5 separate regions of the Homo sapiens genome follow, and regions 1, 3, 4 and 5 are each linked to region 2. The links are contacts of gene promoters, found by promoter capture Hi-C in blood cells and fetal thymus (Javierre and others, 2016). All regions are on one chromosome and are shown on one strand. The core of a region is centred on a gene start or on the middle of the fragment in contact, and the rest is flanking DNA. Distances in the headings are between cores, read along the strand shown. Region 1 overlaps ZBTB16 (zinc finger and BTB domain containing 16). Region 2 holds the start of ZBTB16 (zinc finger and BTB domain containing 16). Region 3 has its middle 21 kb from the start of NNMT. Region 4 holds the start of USP28 (ubiquitin specific peptidase 28). Region 5 overlaps ZBTB16 (zinc finger and BTB domain containing 16).

Region 1 (2,791 bases), core at 34-2,533, 150 kb after region 2:
CATTTACTCTCCTCTCTCCTTTCTAGGACATTTCAGGAAGCATTATTCAAAAGCCGGTGGGGTGGGACAGAGGGACTATTAAAATTTTTAAGAATCACCTTGCATTTCTTTCACTTTGGTCTTAATAATAAATAACTCTAACCCTGCAGCCAGGAGCTGGGATGTTCTGTCCAAATTAGCACAAATCTCTGTCTGCAACAGCCGAGCATCCCCGTTCAGTGGGCGGGATCAGTACCATTTCCCCAGCAATGAGAAAAAGCCCTCTTGCTAAGCTACAGAAAAATCTCCCTTGTGCTTTAATTTTGGAAGAAGCGGATTAGTGTGGCCATATTTAACCTTTGACCCTGAAACAAAAGCATTATCAAAATTATTTACCAAGAGCGTCTGTCTTCTTCTCCTCACCCCCACTTCCCTGTTTGCCGGGGCTAGTTTAGAATCTTGGTAAACTTCCCAGAGCAAGAGCAAAATTTTGGAAGGCCATCATTACCTTAGAGACATCCCAGGCCTGGTGTTCACTGCCAGGGCTCTTGGGGTCTAAGGTGGGTTAAAGGACAGAGATGAGAATCTTATACCACAGTGGGGTTCAAAATTTGTGAGTTGGATGTAAAAACTCTTTCTCCTCTGAAACTAGCCTAGTTTCTGGCTGTCTTGGAGATTTAACTATTCAGATGATATGTTGATTTTTTTTTTGTTTTGTTTTAAAGATGGAGTCTCACTCTGTCGCCAGGCTGGAGTGCAGTGTCTTGATCTCGGCTCACTGCAACCTCCGCCTCCTGGGTTCAAGCGATTCTCCTGCCTCAGCCTCCCGAGTAGCTGGGATTATTACAGGTGTGCACCACCACCCCTAGCTAATTTTTCTATTTTTAGTAGAGACAGTGGTTTCACCATTTTGGCCAGGCTGGTCTCAAACTCCTGACCTCAGTTCATCCACCCTCCTTGGCCTCCCAGAGTGCTGGGATTACAGGCATGAGCCAAGTGAGTGACCTAAAAGTGCAGATTGATTTCTACCTTCTTCTCCTTCCAGGCAGAAATCCATAGACTTGGTGGTGTGGGGTGGAGGTATATCTAGACCTGAGCCATTTCTGTGGGTTTAAATCTCATCTTCCCTGTCATTAACTGTCACTGTGGCCTTGGACAAATTATTTGAACTCTGAGCCCCCCACCTACCTTCCTTATCTGTAAAATGGGCATAGCAATAATAGTGCCCGCCTCCTAGAGTTATTTTTGAGGATAGATAACAGGATACACATGAAGTGCTTACTGTGGGGTTTGGTGCTTACTAAGTGTTGAGCCAGTGCTAACTACTGTTACCACAGTTGTTACCATTGTCATCAGTATCATCCTTATTGATTCTTCGTCACTTCCCCAGGTCCTGGTTGGCTCCCTTCCCCCTCCCCCGCATTGGGGTGTTATTGGCGACCCGCCCCATTTCCTGCTTGTCCTCTGCCCTCACCTTCTTTGCAGTGATTTTCAGAGTCCCCGTTTGCGTTCGCAGTGGGGAGTTTGACTTCATTTCATACCAGGAAGGCCAGCTTGCAGTGGGGGATTGGGAGGGCAGAGCGCTTTATAAGCTCGCGATGAAAGCTGTAAAACGAGATGGTCAAGGATCTGGCCAGGCCTGGTTCGGGATTATGGCCGGCCCCTGGAATGCTGAGGGGGGCCTCTTTTAAGAAGCCAGTGTCTATTTACAGTGTATCTCTCATAAACCCCAACGCTGGGGCGAGGGCAGGGGGACTCGCCCTCCTGGCATGTGATTGATTATCTGGTATTTATGCCATTGAGGACTTGTCAGCGGTCTGGGGTCAAAGGGTCATCTCATGTGTCTTGCCGCCAGCCCACCTCCTTTTGTACAGTGTGGACCGGGCGAGCTGTGCACAAAACAGCTTTTTCTTTTCCTTGGGAAAGGGGGGATGGGGAGGGGGGAGTGTCAATGAAATTTTTTTTTCAGCCTTTTCTGAATAGTGTTCTTTAAATTCTAAAGAACTTTTAATTAAAAGTCGCAGGAAAATTCATCTTGAGAAGGTTTAACTTACCTTAACAGATACTTTTGTGTCCCAAGAAGCTGGGAGTGACTTTGAAAGAAAGAAAGAAAGAAAGTAAGGGGCTTTGTTGTGCCTCTCCCCCTCCCCCAGGCATTTTCAAAGTTTCCTGGAGTTCTTGTCCACTCCTGTCTGGTGTGGACCCTGCTTGGGAAAGCAGGAAGGGAAGAGGTCATTCTTCTCCTTTAACATAGCCACACAAATTTAGAAAGGGACTTGGGGATTCTCTGCTCCAATTTTCTCCTGTTATAGATGAAGAAACTGAGCCTTGACAGGTGAAAAGACTTCGCTATAGAGTCACACAGCTACACAGTTGCGGAGTCAGGCACTGGGCTCTGATTCTCTGTATTTCCTAGTGCTCCTTTGAGCATGCCAGGTTGCTTCCCGAAGCTGCTTTGGATGCCAAGTGAAGATAAATGTAATGATACCTTTGCTGTCGTTCAGTCCTGGATGTTTGAGACTTGGGAACCACCCTTAAATTCCTTGGGCTGGAAGCATCCCTGAGGGACCACCTGGCTTATCCCCCCATCCCCCATCGCCTGCCTCGGAGCAGGCAGTCCGTGCTCACGTGTGCCGGAGGAATTGCTGTGGGTCCCTTTTCTAAAAATCTGCAGAGGAAGTCTCTATGTTTTCTGCTTGGTAGAAAATGCCGGCACCCCTCCCTCAACCTTCATCACTGGATGGTCTGGACATCCTTCTGAACAGCTGACTTTGTTTCTTCCTTCTGTGGCTCAGGAGTGGCCCACCCATGG
Region 2 (2,817 bases), core at 73-2,572:
ACCCGTGAGTCACGGACAGAACATGCAGACTCAGGCCTTGGTGACATAAGCTCCGCATTGCTAAAACCGCGTGACCTCGAGGGCTGACTGGCCTGAGAACCCTGGATGGCGCTCTCGGCCACCCCCACCTCCCACCCCAACCTCCTGGGCTTCGGTCAGAATCCACAGCCCGTGCCCGAAGAGCGCTTCCCGCCTCTGGCACCCTACCTTCGCTCAGCTCCAGGGAAAAGGGGAGAGGGCAGCTTTCTGCAGTCAGAGGAAGAGTACATTTTCTTTGGCTGCTCTACCCTCTGAAGTAGGGCGGCCAGCTGAAGGAGGACACACTTTTGAGGGGCCCAGAGGTTGTCCAAGCTTCCCCCTGCCCCCTGAAGACTGTGCACTGAGCTGGGCGCAGTTCTCGGGAACTGTTTCCACCCAGATTGCTGGGGGGCGGGGGGGTAGGATGAGGGCAGAGCCGAGAGGCTGTCCAAGGTTTGGGAGAGAGAAAAGTTTCTCCCAGGACTCGACCTTGGCCTCCAGCAATCGCGACAGCTAAAAACGGGTGTCTCGCTTCGACAATAGATCCCCGCGGACCTTCTGGCACCTGGTTCACTAGCGCCCGCGAACTCTGCCTCGGGAGACTTATTGAAATCCGGATGCTCAAGCCGGGAGGCGCGCAGTAACCAGGAGGATGAGAGGGCCGGGTTTGGGCTAGGAAAGCGGCCTTTTAAAACAGATGTCAGGGGGACTGCAGCCCCGAGCCATGAGAAAAAAGTTAAAGGCGAGATGACACGCACTGAATTGGGGCAAACATTGGAAGAGGAGACAAAACTGCGTGCTTGAGCACCGGGGTGCGGGGAGGGGGGGACAAAACCCGTATCCAGTGCAAATTAAAATCTTGGGAGTAGGTGGGGGCTGCTGCGCGCCCTTCACCCTCAGTTCCCCTATTAAGGATTCTGAGTCCCCATGCACTCCTGTCCTCTGGCTCCTTCCTTCCTCTCCGCTCGGCCGGTGAGAGGCGGCCGCCGGCGCCCCAGCAGCAGCTAGATGTCAGGCGAAGCCCGGAGCGCGGAGCGCGGGGAAGGGAGGGGAAGGGAGGGGAGGGGAAAGGAGGGGTGGGGCGGGGAGCGCGCGCGGGCTCGGCCAGTGCGGGGTGGTGGGCGGGCTGAGCCCGGGGACGGCGCGGGAGGGGGGAGGGAAGGGGGGCAGCTGTGGGCAGGGAGCCGGGCTCGGCCGCCAGCACTAAAGATGGAGAGGCGCCGGGGCCTTGCAGGGGAGGGGGCTCGGCGTTGACGTGGGACGCGGCGGAGGCGCAGCAGCCGGTGGTGATTTGCTAACCTCGCAGCAGAGAGGAGTTGAGGGCGATGAGAGCGGGTACTGCGAACTGCCGGGCGATGCTGTCGCTGCCGCCGTGATACGGAGAGCAACAGTTCCCCAGCAACACCCCTCCCCGACACAGGCACACACCCCCCGACAGGCACGCACACCCACCCCACAGTGCCCGGCTCGGCTGCGGTGAGTGAGGGGCCGGGAAGAGGCGCACCGCCCAGCGAGCGCCGCGCGCCGGGGCTTCCCGGGGCTGGAGAGGTCTGGGGGGCGCGCGCTCGCTTCGGCCACTCGGCCGCTGGGCTTGTGCCTTTTTTATTTGGCGTGTTCCCTTCCTGCCGCTGCAGCCGTCGCCGCCACCGGTTGGGGGTCGGCTAGAAGGGGGAGCCCCGGCTGTCAGCCTGGGCGCAGCTGCCTCCCCAGCCCTTCCTCTTCAGGGCACGGTCGGGGTGAGAGGTGGGGGGCGTAGCGGTGTGCGGGGGCTGAGGGCGTGAGCAGAGGGGTCGGGGATCCGGAGGCTTTGTACCGCCAGGGGCTGGCGGAGCAACAGAGCCCGTGGGTGCTCTTATGTATGCGGACCGGTGCGCGGGCGCAAGATAAGGTTGTGGTTTATTTATTTGTGTGTTTATTCGCCGGCCGGCTGGGAAGCTAGAATCGGAGGAGCTGACGAGTAGATCTGGGGGCGGAGGGGAGCAGGACTGGGACTGCTTACGTTTTGTTTCTCTTTGAGAAAACGTGGTGGGCTTTTTCTTGATTGGACTTGATCCCCACCCCCCTTTTGCAGGGGAGGGAGGGAAGCTCCAGAGGGTCTGCAGCGCTGCGGGCCCTCCTCGGCTCTCGGCGGGACCGGCGGTGACACCGGAGCTCGCCGTGCGCTCCCGGCCGCTCTCGGTGGGTGCCGGTCTCTGCACCTGATGCGTTCGGGATGCCTTTCCCACCCTGGCGCGCCCGCCGCTAGCTCGCACAGCGCCTCGCACACTCCCGCACGCGCTTGAAATGCGCACGGTCCCGCCGGCCCGCGGAACCACCCGGACGCACGGAGCGCTCCGCACCGACTCGCTCGCCGCCTCCCCGAGACGCTCGCACCGTGCTTGGGCCGGGCGCGCTGGCCGCTGGCGCCGCTGGCCAGAGGCCTGGGACCCAGCCGGTCGCTCCCAGGGGGTCACGGCCCTGGGTCGGAGAGGGAGGGCGGGCAGACCCCTTCTCGCCTTTCCTCCCACAACTCGCTGCGGGGCTTTTGTGCTTCCCCTTCGCCGCGGGGCGGGTCCGCCTCCCCTGCCGCTCTCGCCGCGGAGTCCAGCCCGCCCGGACTGTCGCCGTTCCTCCCCGTCTCTTTCGCTTTCCCTCGTCCCTAGCTCAGCTCTCCTTCTTTCAGGAGTCTAGCTCCTCGGGAAAAGTTGCTTCCCCAAGTTTGCTGAAGTCGTCTCCAAGTCTCGGTGGGGGTCGCTGGGAACTGGGGGGGTGTGAGAGCGCGGTCGATCCCCGGAGCTCGGGCGGGTTATCGCCGGCTCT
Region 3 (2,720 bases), core at 172-2,671, 220 kb after region 2:
AATTGGCAGTTGAAGTGACAAAGCTTGTTCTCTACTAGTTGCTGCCACACCCCTCAGTGCCTTCCTGCTCCTAACACTCCCCTCCTACCCCTGCTCAGTGCTGGGGACTGTGCTCAGTCATGTCTAAGGCTGTTAGTGCAGATAAAATTCCAAATCTTAGAGTCTGCATTCCCAAGTGGTTGACTCTCTACACCCCAAACAAACGTGTCTCTCTAAGAAGTCTAGAGAAAGTAGAACCTTTTGGGAAAGGTGGACCTCAGAGCCATGCTTCGATACTGACGATTTAGAAATATTCTTGTTCTAAAACAGGTGGGCTGATAGGAAAGTGACTAATTGGCATTGGCCCTGAGGCCACCATTATCAGCTCCTCTCTGCCTGTGAGTCTTTCTAGGAGACCATTGCCTCCAACTACATGGACAAGAATGTCCTGGAGCTGAACAGGTAGCAGAGACAGAGGCTGCAGTCATTTGACTGGTCTCCAGTGGTAAAATATGTATGTGAGCTTGAAGGGATTAGGCAAGGAGTTCGGTGTTTGTTTTTGCACCTTGAGGATGCCAGAGCTTCACGTGGCTCTCTGAACTAAGAATTTTCTGTGGGGCTCATGTAGAAATGGCAAGAAAGATGGAGACTAAGAAAGAAGGATGTCAGTGGAACTGCAGGAAGAAGAAAGGAAGAGTGAGTTCTATAAAGCCCCAAGGAGGGAACCAAAGTAGATGGCTAGAGACAAGCCTGGAGCCAGAAAGAAACTGTCCCAGATGCCAAGATCTGAGCCCAAGCATATGCATAACAGGCAGGATGACAGTCAGCTGGCTTTTGATGGCAGGCAACCGTTCTGACTGGTCAGTGTTCCTGTTGTTCCAATTGCAACCTCCAGACTTTTGACCCTAAACCTGTGGAAGCTTTCTGTGGGTCTCCTGAGGTGACCTCTCACTGCTGGGAACAGGGAAACACAGAGAAGGCCATCGCTGGGATTGGAGTTGGGAATGGAATTAAGACCAATCTAACTTTGAGGCAGAATAGAATTTACTTACCTTGCGTAATTTCAGGCACCAGGAAAGTTCTCCATAGCATCTTCACTCCCAAAATACCCCACATCCTAGTTAAGTAAGAAGGTTGAAGTTGTTCATTAGGTCCTTCTTCATTTTGCTTAAGACAATAACATTTGTAATACACTATTGAAGAGCTGTAAAGAGTAACCCTTTAAGTGCTAGTCCTTATTCATACCTCAGTATGAATGAGCCTCATAGCCTATACTAGGTATTTAAGAAGAGAATGTGACAACTGAGTGGAGTGTGTAGCCAGGAGCCACTGGAAGGGAAAGATGATGGAGGTACTGGATGTCCTCAACAACATCTACCAAGCTCACTTTGTATTAATAGTTTTGCTCTGCTGGTTCCAGGCAGACTTTCCATTTCCCTTTGCACTTGGCTGACTTGTTTTAAGTCATGGACCAGGCAGAGAAAGAATGGGCTGATTGTCAGAAGCACATTGCAGAGACAGCCGGCAAGTGGAAAGAGCACTGACTGCAGGGTTGGCGGTCCCTAGGCTTGCCCGTGCCAATAGCTGATGTCATGACTGCATCTCCAGGACTCAGTGTCTTCATCTGTAAAAGGAGTGACCTGATTCTGATATTCTGAGATTCTGTGAGTGTGTGTATGGCTTGGGGTTAGGGTTATGGTTAGGTTTTGTGTTAGAATATTCTGATATCTTGCGAGTGTGTGTATGGGTTTAGGGTTAGGGTTAGAATATTCTGATATCTTGTGAGTGTATAGGGGTTATGGTTATGGTTAGGGTTAGGATTTGAATATTCTGATATCCTGTGAGTTGTGTATATGTTAGGGGTAGGGTTACAGTTAAGATTAGGGTTAGAATATTCTGTTATCCTGCAAGTGTGTGTATGAGATGCAGAAAATGACCAGGAGTGATCTATATGTCCCATGAGGTAAGCTTGACCCAGCTGGCCACTCTTTCCATTTCCTTCTTTCCAGAGAGAAGTGGGCTGAAAAGGAGGAGTGTTTAAGGAAAGCGACTCAAATGTGCTTACATGTGACATTTGGAAAGAATGGCCTCTGAAACCTGCAGTCCTGCCCCTGGCCGACTGCCTCGTTTTCTCCCTGTGGTTTCAGGCTGCCCCCCCACCCACCCTGGGTACCTGCCAAGGCACCTTGTGCCAACTTGGGACCCTGCTTCAACCCAGGGACCGTATGCTGCAAGCAGAGGCTTTGAGACCAGTGTCTACATGGTGGGGGACAAGAGGTTCTCCACACTGCCCCTAGAGAGGAATTTCTGCAGGAGCCCCTGCAGGAGACAGGCTTGGATTTGGAGAAGTTGGAGAAGGCTCAGCAGGCAGCTGAGAGCCACTTCCACGACTGCCCAGTTGACCCAGAGATGTTCTCTGTGGCCCGGCGAAGGGACTGATGCAGCAGACTTGGTAGGAGCTAGGAGTGCACAGGGGCAGGATTTCCAGATGCCATCCTGCTACCTCATTTGCTTTCCTCTTCGTTTAGTCTGTTTTATTTAGAAACCTTACCAGCAAATGCTTTTAGAGTCTTATTATACATGATTGCCAGGTAAATAGGAATGTTGATCTCAAACAGAGAGGTTTATAATATGCTCCACTCATGGCCCAGGGAGGGAGAGAAAGAATTAGACCAGAGAAATAAAGCTGTGCTTCTTCTTGTTTCAAGGGCTCTGCAGGGTTGCATAGAGAGAAGAGGGGA
Region 4 (2,751 bases), core at 149-2,648, 180 kb before region 2:
GGGCGCGGTGGCTCACGCCTGTAATCCCAGCACTCTGGAAGGCCGAGGCGGGCGAATCACCTTAAGTCGGGAGTTTGAGACCAGCCTGACCAATATGGTGAAACCCCGACTCTACTAAAAATACAAAAATTAGCCGGGCCGGTGGCAAGCACCTGTAATACCAGCTACTCAGGAGGGTGAGGCGGAGGATGCAGTGAGCCGACATCGCGCCACAGCACTCCAGCCTAGGCAACAGAGGGAGACTCTGTCGAAAAAAAAAAAAAAAAAAAAAAAAAAGTGTCTCCATGCTAAATACTACTGGCCTTCCAGACAAAAGAGTAAAAAGGTATAAAAGGATTCTCACCTGAGGGTATCTGTCTGCCAGCTTTGTACGACAAATATAGTTTCTCATCTCCAAACTCGTATTTGAACAACTGGCACAGATTTCCCGTTTTCTCTTGAAAAAGTGCAGTACTTGAGGGGTGAGGAGGTGGTGTTAAGTTATAACATTCCGAAGTAACACTAGAAGACATGCTCAAATTGCCCTCTTCCCAAGTTTCTTCATACAGACATTAGCTTTTCTCTCAAACCAGGGTTCTTTCACTCTCACCAGATTCTTAGATCAGAAGTCCTTATATTGATTTCAATCTTCTTAGACATTGGGAACAGGAGATCATCATCAGTAGACTTTCTATTCATCACGCAGCTCCTCCCCCTCCTTAAAAATCTAGAGCGATGAAGGCAATAATTGGGGAGGCTGCGCTGTTTTGTTTTTAAAGCCGGGTTGGGAGGGAGGGAAGTGGTGGTAACTGGGACCCCTGGTCTTATAGAAGACGGTGATTAATTCCGGACTTTAAGTGAGATAACTTCGGTCTGCTTTAACCTTTTAAAAACGCCGCCATAAAACTGATTTAAAAGTCAAAGCAAAACAAAACCAACCAACGCTGCCGCTTTCGGAAGTTTCTCACCCCGGACGGGGCCCAGGAGGGCTCACCTTACTGATCCCTGCGGCGGAGAACCCCACGTCCAGCCCTTTATATTTGGTTTTCCAAAATCTGGAAATCCCCCTACAACTTCAGCTCGCCCACGGACGCGAAGATGCAGTCCTCAATCTCCGCGGCCCGAGCCCCGCAGAGCCCTTGGCCTTCTCACCCACGCTGGCGGGCGCACCCCCTGTCCCGCCCGGCCGGGGCGCCCTCCGCAGCCCGCAACCCGCAGCCCTGCAGGCCCCGCACGCTCCCCTCAGGGCCTGGAGCCCGCCCCCAGCTCCCGCTCGCCGCCGCGGAGCCCACCGAGCCGTGGCCGTCTGCCGCGCCGGCCGCGTCGTCCTGCTGCAGCTCCGCAGTCATGGCCGAGGCGCCCAGCCGCGGGTCACCGGTCTCCCGCCGCAGCCGCCGCCGGCCCAGCCTCTCAGGACTAGGCCCCGCCCCCGCCCTCCACCCCGCTCCGTCCCGCCCCCGCCCGCAGCGCGCGCCGGAGGCTTGGCCCACATGCCCCGCCCCCGGCATGCGCGCGCACGCAAGGCGCGCGGCCCGGGGCCGAACAGTTCTGCGTGCTCCCGCGCACGCCCGGCTGACCAGACGTCGGTCACGTGATCCCGGCCCCGCCTGTCGCTGTTGGTCAGCTTCACAGCCGGTGGAGGCTGCGGGCCGCGCTGCCAGTGTCCGGGAACTGGGTTTGCGAATCCTGGGAGCCGCGTTCCTGAGTCTTCTCCGCTCTCTGCCCTCAAAACCTCATTTGTAGGACTGACCTCCGGCTCCACCCTCCCCACGGGCGAGTTAAAACTGTTCCCCCGCCGTGGGAAACTGCCGAATGACCGTGGAATAAAGGATTTCCCATCAGGCTTTGTAGCCATTTCCAACTCCAATGACATGAAGAAGTGTTCACCATCTTTAAGGAGAGAAGGAGGATGAATGCAGTCGCTTGTCTAAAGCTAACCAAACGGACCAAAGCCTCCGTTCATGGGTGTCCCGCTTGGTGCCCTTAACCCTGATGCTCTTAACCTGGGCATGATAAGGAAAATTGCAGTTTTTCCATTTTCGATTTTCAGAAGTTCAAACTAAAATTTTGTGTTACTTTGTTACGTTTGAGCCAGATATTTACGATTTCATGTTAAAAGACCAGGTGCTCCTATTGAATTGTTTTTTGTTTGGTTGGTTTCGGTTTGTTTTTTTTTTTTTCTTTTTTTTTGAGACGGAGTCTCACTCTGTCCCCTCAAGCTGGAGTGCAGCCGCACGGTCTCGGCTCACTGCAACTTCCGCCTCCTGGGTTCAAGCGATTCTCCTGAGTAGCTGGGATTACAGGCACGCTGTACCACACCCAGGGTTTCACCATGTTGCCCAGGCTGGCCTCGAATTCCTGACCTCAGGTGATCCGCCCGTCTCGGCCTTCCATAATGCTGGGATTATAGGCGTGAGCCACCGCGCCAGGCCTGAATTGTATTTTCAACAACTGTGTGGGAATTGTGATTACTGAACCATGTTTCACATTTAAGATACAAATGTGTTATGATGGCAAACCCACTTGACAGGCTGCTGGGTGTCCCAAATCTGCGTAGAGGCTGAGTGTGGAAGCGCGTCTTTTAAGAGTAGCACCTACACCCTTGCCCTGGTCTGGTCTGACTCTCAAGCTACACTTTTAAGTGTGAATTTAACATGGACGGTGGCCTTTCCTATACTCCTGGCATTGTTGTCGCTGGGATTGTTATGTTTCACCTGCAGGCCTCCCTAGTCTGCATGCGGGCGCAGTTTTTGACAAAAGGAAACAGGTACA
Region 5 (2,785 bases), core at 279-2,778, 170 kb after region 2:
AAACGTCTCAAAGTCAGATCCCTTTTTGGTATGAATTTGCTGTGTCTCATTCTGGGCACTAATTCCAATTTAATTGCGAGTGGCCTGAAGCCTCTTCAATAGGAGTAACAAATGGTTTGATTTTGTAAACTTCATCAGACTGCATTTTAAATGCGACACAGTAGCCCAACTCGAATGCCAATGAAGCACTGGAGTAGCTCTCTGTTTACTAATTATCCGTTTTTACTCCAAGCCACGCTGGCTGGCTTGTCTGATTAAATCGGATTTGTGGGATAGAGAACAGCTAGCAGAGTTTTCTCTATAGTAAACGAGATTGAAACTATGGGCCGCCTGGCTGCACACTGTAAATTATATTTCCTTTTAAAGGGGACGTGTCTCTTTTATTTCTCTGTCATCCCTCCTGCATATTAAACTTTACGGTACAGAAGTATACCCGGCTGCTTCTAAATCCAGCCTCTCACCCTCTACCTGGTAGCCCACTCTCACTTTCTGTGATTTCTGTCTCCTTCTCTGAAGGACTGGAAAGGAAATTCGTAGCTACGTTCTCTGCTCCTTTATCTTTTTAACCCTTTTCTTTTCTTCCTCTTTATTCTGGAATTGGCTTTTCATTATTCCATTATTTTCAAAGATACCTGTGATGACATGGATGCTTAGAAACTATATTGAGTTAGCTAAAAGAGAGTTCTGGCAACAGAATTTACCAGGACCTAACACAGACTGGGTTTTAGCTTTTTAGAAGGATGTGAAGATGGGTGGTATTGGGCCGGGGCAGGCAGGGGTTGGGCATGAATTGGTAATGATAGTTTGAATTGTGAAAAAAGAGTCAATTTCTGAAAAATCAAATGTGTTCCTTTGGTTCACCTGGAATGATGAAATCCCTTCCTCTGAACGCAGTGAAATCAGAATCACCTGATTTCTACCTGTGGCCCAGCGGAGAAGGCCGTGGGGCAGGTGTTGGAAGGGTGAACGTTGGTGGTCCCGCCCTCTCGGTTGAAGCCCAGGTTGGGGCAGTGGGTGTGTCCTCTTTCTACTCCCTGGCTGGTTCTGGGTCTGACGTAGAGCTCCTGGGCTCGATTTATTGTTTATTCCTCTGACCCTAGGAAGGCAAAACAACCTCTGTCCTTGGTCCTTCCTGTAATGTGCACGTGCATGTGCAACACACACATGCACACACATGCAGGTACATGAAACAAACGCAAGGAGCCCTGAATCAGGTGTAATCAGGCTGTGCGTACATTCTGCCGTTGCTAAGACCAACTCCATGAGCTCGACCTGCCCTGCCCTCATTCTTGGTATCTATGTATGCTCTGGGAGCTTTTTTATATTTTAATTTGCTTCTGAATGTCCTGCAGAATTAACAGTATCTGTCTGCACTTTTCCCTTTTTGGCTATTGTGTGCCGTACAGTACGGGAAGGCCGCATGGTGTCTCTGATATTGATAGCCTGGTTACCGTGGGAATGAATGGCCACCACACTCTCAGGCCCACAGCCCTCCTTTTAATTGTTGACAGTAAAAAGCATTTAAATGCTGCTTAATTTGTAATCATCTTCTGTGGGGGGGGGGCGGGAAGGAGAGGAGCCATTAAAATGTCAGTAAAATGAATACATCCTCTCCTTTTTTGTTATTTTGTTTTGCTTATTTATATGGGGTAGTTTTTCTTTTCATTGCCCAGTGTTTGGGAGATATTTAAATGGCGCTGAAACAATCAGTATTTCGTTTTATTTTGAATTTCTGTCTCGCCCAACCCCTGCTCCCCTCCCCACTCCATTCTGTCTCCCTGGGCCTTTGTCTTGCCTCTGTCTCTCTCTCTTTTCTGTCTGGGTCTCCTCCTGCCTCCTGCCTCTGCCTCCACCTCCCTATCTCTGGAATACATTGGGGTTTACTGGAAATTTTACATGAGAGCCTAGCTGAGGTTTTTGGGTTTTTTTCCCCCAGAGAACCTACTCCTGGGCTGCAGTTTCTCTGCAGGGGCCTCAGGATGACTTTGGGAATGTCTGAAACTAGAGAGAGTGACCATCTATAGAAAGCATCTTTTACATGTGAAGTATACTGGAGATGAAAGAGTCCTGGGGATAACTTATTGTTCAGACAAGGAAATTGGGTCTTACCTTCACGTGGAAACTCCGTGCCTCCCGTGAAGCTCTGGACACACAGCCAGAATGTAAATGCCTACTATGTGTTGGACACTGTGCTCTTGTAATGAAACTGCTAGATTCAGAGGGTCTGGTTCTCTGACTTGCTCTCTATATGGGCTTTCTTGGGGGTCTTCTCTATCATTCTGCTGCTGGGGGCTTGGGAGAGAAAGCTCCCCCTCCATATTCCCCACCCCAACTGCTCAGCCCTCACCTGGCACAGAGAGGCTTCAGGTACTCTCAGACCCAGCTACTCAATAATTGCCTCTGTGAGTGTTCAGCCAGTTCTAGGAGGTCTTAAGCTGCTAACTGGTAGTCCCCTAGAAAAGGGACCTAGAGGTTCTCTCAAGTCCTGTGAAATTTTCCCATCTTCCTAAAAATCCCCATCTCACAGTGCTGCTTGAGAAAGGTTGAACCTAGATTGGCACCCAGCAGGTGCCCAGTCAATGTTGGATCCTTTCTTTGCCTTGTCTGTGACTGTCCCTCTGTCAGCCTAAGAATGTGGTTCCTTTTAGTTAAAGAGATTCTCTTTAGCTAAAAGAAGGCTGTGAAGTCTGACTTTGAAAGAGAAAATGCTGACGTCCATCTCAGTGGGAGAAAGGACCATTCAACCTGCCAGCACCCTCTTCAATAGAATTGTTGAATATTAGAG

What was found. The method cuts DNA at HindIII sites, captures the fragments that hold promoters and counts their contacts. A CHiCAGO score of 5 or more calls a contact.
Region 1: a contact is called between a fragment that was not itself captured here and the fragment with the promoter of ZBTB16 in region 2, in 6 of 17 cell types (megakaryocytes, total B cells, erythroblasts and 3 more). The highest score is 13.7, in megakaryocytes.
Region 3: a contact is called between a fragment that was not itself captured here and the fragment with the promoter of ZBTB16 in region 2, in 1 of 17 cell types (total CD4 T cells). The highest score is 5.5, in total CD4 T cells.
Region 4: the fragment with the promoter of USP28 here is called in contact with the fragment with the promoter of ZBTB16 in region 2 in 3 of 17 cell types (total B cells, erythroblasts and naive CD8 T cells); the score reaches 10.8 in total B cells.
Region 5: a contact is called between a fragment that was not itself captured here and the fragment with the promoter of ZBTB16 in region 2, in 5 of 17 cell types (monocytes, activated CD4 T cells, erythroblasts and 2 more). The highest score is 7.1, in monocytes.

What each region holds. Positions count from the first base shown.
Region 1 is chr11:114,210,236-114,213,026 of GRCh38, forward strand. The region is part of intron 4 of ZBTB16 (zinc finger and BTB domain containing 16); the gene reads left to right. Among named protein-coding and RNA genes, the nearest start is that of NNMT, 85 kb to the right of the region's middle. RefSeq lists enhancers at 2,281-2,781, 2,782-2,791. The HindIII fragment of the contact is 3,018 bases long and covers 1-2,791 here.
Region 2 is chr11:114,058,389-114,061,205 of GRCh38, forward strand. It overlaps ZBTB16 (zinc finger and BTB domain containing 16), which reads left to right and starts at 1,323. Exons shown (of 7, transcript NM_006006.6): 1 at 1,323-1,494. RefSeq lists a silencer at 879-1,173. The HindIII fragment of the contact is 2,602 bases long and covers 350-2,817 here.
Region 3 is chr11:114,273,978-114,276,697 of GRCh38, forward strand. It overlaps a transcript of NNMT not described here. Among named protein-coding and RNA genes, the nearest start is that of NNMT, 21 kb to the right of the region's middle. The HindIII fragment of the contact is 1,048 bases long and covers 898-1,945 here.
Region 4 is chr11:113,874,174-113,876,924 of GRCh38, forward strand. It overlaps USP28 (ubiquitin specific peptidase 28), which reads right to left and starts at 1,399. Exons shown (of 26, transcript NM_001346252.4): 1 at 1,272-1,399. The coding sequence starts at 1,328. RefSeq lists silencers at 1,098-1,457, 1,478-1,637 and enhancers at 1,374-1,668, 1,658-1,907, 1,958-2,619. The HindIII fragment of the contact is 13,869 bases long and covers 1-2,751 here.
Region 5 is chr11:114,229,078-114,231,862 of GRCh38, forward strand. The region is part of intron 4 of ZBTB16 (zinc finger and BTB domain containing 16); the gene reads left to right. Among named protein-coding and RNA genes, the nearest start is that of NNMT, 66 kb to the right of the region's middle. The HindIII fragment of the contact is 9,057 bases long and covers 1-2,785 here.